Linked DNA regions of Homo sapiens: region 1 is linked to region 2. Evidence: promoter capture Hi-C in 16 types of primary human blood cells and fetal thymus (Javierre and others, 2016). All regions are on one chromosome and are shown on one strand. Each heading gives the region's core, a stretch centred on a gene start or on the middle of the fragment in contact. The rest is flanking DNA. Distances are from core to core; before and after follow the strand shown. Region 1 has its middle 8.9 kb from the start of DDX10. Region 2 holds the start of RAB39A (RAB39A, member RAS oncogene family).

Evidence for each region. The method cuts DNA at HindIII sites, captures the fragments that hold promoters and counts their contacts. A CHiCAGO score of 5 or more calls a contact.
Region 1: a contact is called between a fragment that was not itself captured here and the fragment with the promoter of RAB39A in region 2, in 1 of 17 cell types (total B cells). The highest score is 5.7, in total B cells.

What each region holds. Positions count from the first base shown.
Region 1 is chr11:108,654,590-108,657,756 of GRCh38, forward strand. No RefSeq gene overlaps it. Among named protein-coding and RNA genes, the nearest start is that of DDX10, 8.9 kb to the right of the region's middle. The HindIII fragment of the contact is 241 bases long and covers 1,411-1,651 here.
Region 2 is chr11:107,926,939-107,929,839 of GRCh38, forward strand. It overlaps RAB39A (RAB39A, member RAS oncogene family), which reads left to right and starts at 1,510. Exons shown (of 2, transcript NM_017516.3): 1 at 1,510-1,857. The coding sequence starts at 1,631. RefSeq lists silencers at 1,246-1,735, 1,766-1,985. The HindIII fragment of the contact is 18,255 bases long and covers 1-2,901 here.

The sequences.
Region 1 (3,167 bases), core at 281-2,780, 730 kb after region 2:
GTTTGCTTTAACACTATGTAAAACATAGAAATATATGGAAATTGTACATAGGTAGTGAACAATTAGATTCAAGGTTAACTTGAATAACTGAACTCAGTAAGGTTGGCCCCAGTACATGACAAACTGCTATTTATGAAGATACTAATTCTTTTTAGAACAGGAGAGTTGGAAGTCTTTCCATGATGAAATAAATCAAAATTATGTTTTGTGGTGCCACAAACTGGGAGAGAATACCAATGATATCAAGTATTAAGTCACATATGACCCTGGGCGTATCATTTAATCTTTCTTGCCTTCAGTTTTCTCATCCGGAAAATGAGTTGTGTGAGGTTTAGAAAGAATGTATGTAATGAAGTTAGAAATAGCACTTACTAGGTGCTCAATAAATATTAGCAATTACTTCCTGTTAATTAAAAAGAAGCGTTGGAAGAATGAATTAAAAATAGAATTTTGGGAGTACTGATTGTAAATAAAGCATGTCCTAGAAACTCAATGTTTTAATAAGACAGACAAACTTACCAGTACACCAAATTGCTGAGTGACTATAAAAACCCAGGCCAAATTCAGTCCACTCCCAAGGGAAAACTAGCACTTAATCCTACCCTGCCACCTGCTGGCCCATGATAGACCAAAAATAACTATCTGGAAGTTCCAATTTCTCACTAAGTGAAAATAGTGGCAGAAATTAAGTTTATCTCAGACAAGTGATTAGGGCATGAGTCTTCAAGTATTTTTACTAGTGAACCACAGTATGAGAATCCTTATGTGTGATAGCCACAGTAATTTTTATTGATAACATTGATGAGTTGAGATGGTTTTGTTAAGCGTCTTATTAATATCTATGGTTCAAATATGAATCAAGGGCAGGCAGGGTGCAGTGGCTCACACCTGTAATCCCAGAACTTTGGGAGGCTGAGGCAGGCAGATCGCCTGAGTCCAGGAGTTCGAGATCAGCCTGGGCAACATGGCAAAACTCTGTCTCAACTAAAAATATAAAAAAGTAGCCAGGCGTGGTGGCATGTGCCTGTGGTCCCAGCTACTCAGGGGACTGAGGCAGGAGGATGGCTTGAGCCCAGGAGTTCAAGGCTGCAGTGAGCCCTGATTGTTTCACTGCACTCCAGCCTGGGCGAGGCCCTATCTCAAACAACAACAACAACAACAAAAAAATCAACAGCATATGGAAACTTTATTTATTACTATTTTCCCTTTGTATGTTAATTTTCATAGTTTTATTATGGTTTAATTTTGGTGGTATTCAACTTGAACTGATTATAATCAGCTTCAATTATTATGATTAATTGTAATTTACTAGACCAGAGGTCCCTATGAAACAGAATTGCCTGGTTTCTGTTTCATACTTATAGAATAGGAATATTTTTGGCTAAAGCTCAGGAAGCACTATTTTTTAAAAGCTTTCTATGTGATTCTCGTGCAACTAACTTTGGAGGCCATCATGCTTGATTATAAATTTCTTGAGGCAAGGACAGTTTTTTTCTTCATTTTTGTATTCTTGAGGCTTAAGAATGTCTAGTACAAGACAATTAGATAAATAAAGGAAAAAAGTTATACATAAATGAATGAACAAACACATGCATAGACAAACTAATTGATTCATGACTCCTGGGTAGTTAGCAACACAACAGTTGTGGCAAGCTTAAACCTCGTGGCCTTTTAATTTATGTGTACTAGCCAATTAGGTAAATATATTTTTGTTGTTTAAAGGTTTGACAGGATGCATTCTGGAATCAAGGTGGCTGCATGCTGGCCCCGCCAAGTTTTAGAGGATATGAGTAAAAGGAGATGGAACCAACCAAAGCTGCAACTTCAAAAATTGTATAGAGGTGTTGTATCCTAACAATGACTTCAGACTGATTATATTAATAAGGTATAAGGAAACAAAGGTAATTTCACTATTTGAATAAACATATATCTTGTTGTATTAATTTCTTTTCCAACTTAAAAAAAGTCAAATATACAGTTGAATTGATTTACAAATAGTTATTTGCCATTTTTACGTAACAAGAGGACATGGATGGGTTCACCTTTTAGCATCTTTAGGCCAAGTTATTCTGATCTTGTGGACTCTCTTAAAATTAAACAGTATTTAACTTTATTGGCAATGTAGAAAGGCAGTTACAATGCAGAGAGCAGACAAACTTAAACAAAGAACTGGCTGGGTGCGGTGGCTCACACCTGTAATCCCAACACTTTGGGAGGCTGAGGTGGGCAGATCATGTGAGGTCAGTAGATCCAGGCCAGCTTGGCCAACATGGTGAAATCTGTCTCTACTAAAAATAGAAAAATTAGCTGGGCCTGGTGGTGGGTGCCTGTAGTCCCAGCTACTTGGGAGGCTGAGACGGGAGAATTGCTTGAACCTGGGAAGCGGAGGTTGCAGTGAGCTGAGATCGCACCACTTCACTCCAGCCTGGGCGACAGAGCAAGACTCAATCTCAAAAACAAAAAAACAAAAGCAAAAAACTATTACTGAAGAGGTCCACTGTGTGCCTGGGAGAATTGACCCATAAACAATTAACTCTAAAACATAATTTAGTAAAATGATTTGATTTACTAAAAAAGGGAGAAAAAATAATCTGATTTTTCATTCAAAACAATTAAGGTCATTATGAAAGAAAGAAAATTAGATTGGCATCAGACAGCTTGGCAACAACACACTAAACAAGACAACAGTGGAACAACCCTTTAAAAGAAACTCAAGGGAAAAAAGTGAAAACTAAAAACTTTACAACTTGAGGCTATTGAAAAACAATTTAAAGCATGCAGGACCTCAGCGAATATTGCACCTGTAAGTTCCTTGGAACCAAGAGGTGATGTGGAAAACTTTGGCAGTTGAAGAATGAGCATTAAATGTAATTTTAGATCTAAGTCTAAACAAAGTGGAGTAAGCATGGAAGAATAAAGCATAAATGCAATATGCTCTGACAATGCAAATGAAAGAGAAAATAAACTCATGGATTTCCATAGTGATAATAAATGGAAATCAAGGGGTATCACTGACTCAAGGAAAAAGGAGTATAAGAGCATCATATAAAGGACTTATTATATAGGCAACTACTACACACAGTGTTCTAAAAACAAAAATAAAAAATATCAAGATGACCAAAGAAAACAGATAATATAGGAAAATAACACATCATATATATTTTACA
Region 2 (2,901 bases), core at 260-2,759:
CAGCTCATCACAACCTCTGCCTCCCGGGTTCAAGCAATTCTCCTGCCTCAGCCTCCCGAGTGGCTGAGATTACAGGCATGCACCACTACGCCCGGCTAATTTTGTATTTTTAGTAGAGACGGGGTTTCTCCATGTTGAGGCTGGTCTCGAACTCCTGACTCAGGTGATCCACCCGCCTCAGCCTCCCAAAGTGCTGGGATTACAGGCGTGAGCCACCGCGCCCGGCCTAACACACACTTTTAAACTGTTTCACTTTTTAAAGATAAACCTTGACGTCACTATTACTCAATTTGAGGAAAGGCACAAGAAAGTAGTAAGATCTCACCAGAATTTAAGTTCTGCTTTGTTTACTTACATCATTAATCAGACATGAGCTAAGAGACCACCTGTTCGCTTTTTTCTGACTTAAACAATGGAGACCAAGGAGAGCTGAAAATTTCATGAGCTTCTCAACATTTCCCCGGCTTTTTTTTTTTTTTTTTTTTTTGCCACTGTCCCCAGGGTTGGAGGGCCCCAGAGGGTATGGGGATGATACTTGGCGTTTCTCACTCTTCTGTGGTACTCATAGCAGTGAAGAACAGACAGTGGCAGCACGCAGCAACAGCCAGAGCCCTTGCTAGAAGCACCCAGAACTGGCTGTGCAAATTTATTTCAATCCTGCCCAAAACTCCTTCACCTTAAAATGCCTTGGAGGTGGCTCTCATCAAGACAAGAAAGCAGGGTGTGGTGGCTCACACCTGTAATCCCAGCACTGGGAGGCTGAGCCTGGAGGATCACTTGAGGTCAGGAGTTCGAGACCAGCCTGGGCAACACAGCAAGACCCCATCTCTACAAAAAGTTAGAAAATTAGCGGGATGTGGTGGCCCCCGCCTGTAGTCCCAGCTACTCAGGAGGCTGAGGTGGATGGATCGCTTGAACCTAGGAGTTTGAGACCAGCCTAAGCAACATAGCGAGACCACATCTCTAAAAAAAAAATTTTTTTTTAACCCAGAAGAAAATTAGCCAGGTGTGATGGCTCACACCCGTGGTCCCCGCTGCTTGGGAGGCTGAGGTGGGCAGATCGCTTGAGGCTGCAATGAGCCGAGATCTCACCACATCAATCCAGCCTGGGGGACAAAAAAAAAAGAGGAATCAAAGCAATGACCCAAGTTATGGCCTCAGGGACTTCCAAAATCAGAGCCCTAATCTGACCAACCCGCCCTGACGCCTGTAAGAAAACGACTCTCACTTTTCATTGGCTGACCCTCCCGGAGTTGAGACCTTGCTTCATTTTCCTTGGTTGTTGCTGCTGTCACGTCTTCCCGCCACGCCCACTTTCCTGCCGGCGCCCAGTGAGCGTTGAGGGAGAGTGATTTGCAGCCGGTCAGGGGCGGGAGTTCGCGGCAGCAAACCTGCTTCCCCCTCCCACGCGCCACCGCCCCCGCCCCGCCCCCGTCCAGAGGCCCCGCCCCTAGCCGGGCCTGGCCCCGCCTCTCTCTCCCGAGAGGGCGGGCACCAGGCGGCGGCCGCAGCCGCAGGAATATGCTGGAAGGCGGCGGGCGGGCGCCCGCGAGGTGCTGAAAGGACAGTTCCCGCCGCCGAACTTAGCCCGCGGGTGGGGCGGCCCGGGAGCCAGCGGGGCACGTGAGCGATGGAGACCATCTGGATCTACCAGTTCCGCCTCATCGTGATCGGGGACTCCACCGTGGGCAAGTCCTGCCTCCTGCACCGCTTCACCCAGGGCCGCTTCCCCGGGCTGCGCTCCCCCGCCTGCGACCCCACCGTCGGCGTGGACTTCTTCTCCCGCCTGCTGGAGATCGAGCCGGGCAAGAGGATCAAGCTACAGCTCTGGGACACGGCGGGACAGGAGCGGTTCAGGTAGGGACCCCGGGGACCTTGGGCACCGCGCCGCCCCCTCAGCCCGCCCGGACGCCCCTTCCCCAGGCGTCCGCCCCGCCGGCCCTGGTCGGGAGAGGCTCTGGCCCTTCCCTCTCGAAAGTGCAAACACTCCATTCTCGCTTCCCCTTTGCCCCTCCTCTTCCAGGGACGACTTCCTCCTCCGCAATTTCTCACTTCTTTCTTTGGCGCCCATTTCCTGCGCCCCCTTTCCATCTTTCCTTTCCCGCCTGAACCGGGGTCGTCCTCGCCGCCCCCTCTTCCCCAACTCTTTCAGCCCCTGTGGGTATTTTTATCCCCTCCGGCTCCCCGGCTGCCTTCTTCCCAAACTCGGCTTCCCTGGCTGCGCACAGCATGACCCGACCACCCTCCTCCAAGCAGGCGCCCCTTTTCCTACCCTAACCCAGCGGCTCCCACGCTGTGTGGCCGGGGAGAACCGCGAGGGAGGGTTCCCAGATTCGTGATGGATCCTTTAGCTTCACAGCAAGGAGCGCTCCAACCCAGGTTCCTGCATGAGCTCACTGGGCATGGTTCACAGAGAGGTGGATGCGGTAATGGTTTGGGCACCTCACAGCACTGAATGTGGTCATCAGAAATACTGGGTCATGACCCGTGGGAATGGGTCTTGTAGGTTAACTAGATGCAACATCAGGGACACTGGCACAGCTGAGGGTGTGTGTGTGTGTGTGTGTGTATGTGAAGGGTTGAGTTGTCTTTAGAAGTTTGTCATGTTTGGTGGGAAAAAGACATATATTGAGATTCGCCAGGAACTTTAATTTTGCTTATGATCAGTACTTAACGTTCCAGGGTGATAATATTTCTAAAGACAGAAGGAGGGATCCAAATGAATAGTCTCCTCCTAAATATCCGCTGGGGACATGAAGGGTTTCACAAAGGCGACTTGTGTAAATAAAAAGTAAATGAAATTATATGCATTTCCTGAATATTTGAGATGGAAGCAGGTTTAAAGCAAATTTTAAATGTCTAGGATTCAAAGGCACTTCGTTTTAGAGGAAGATGGTGAAA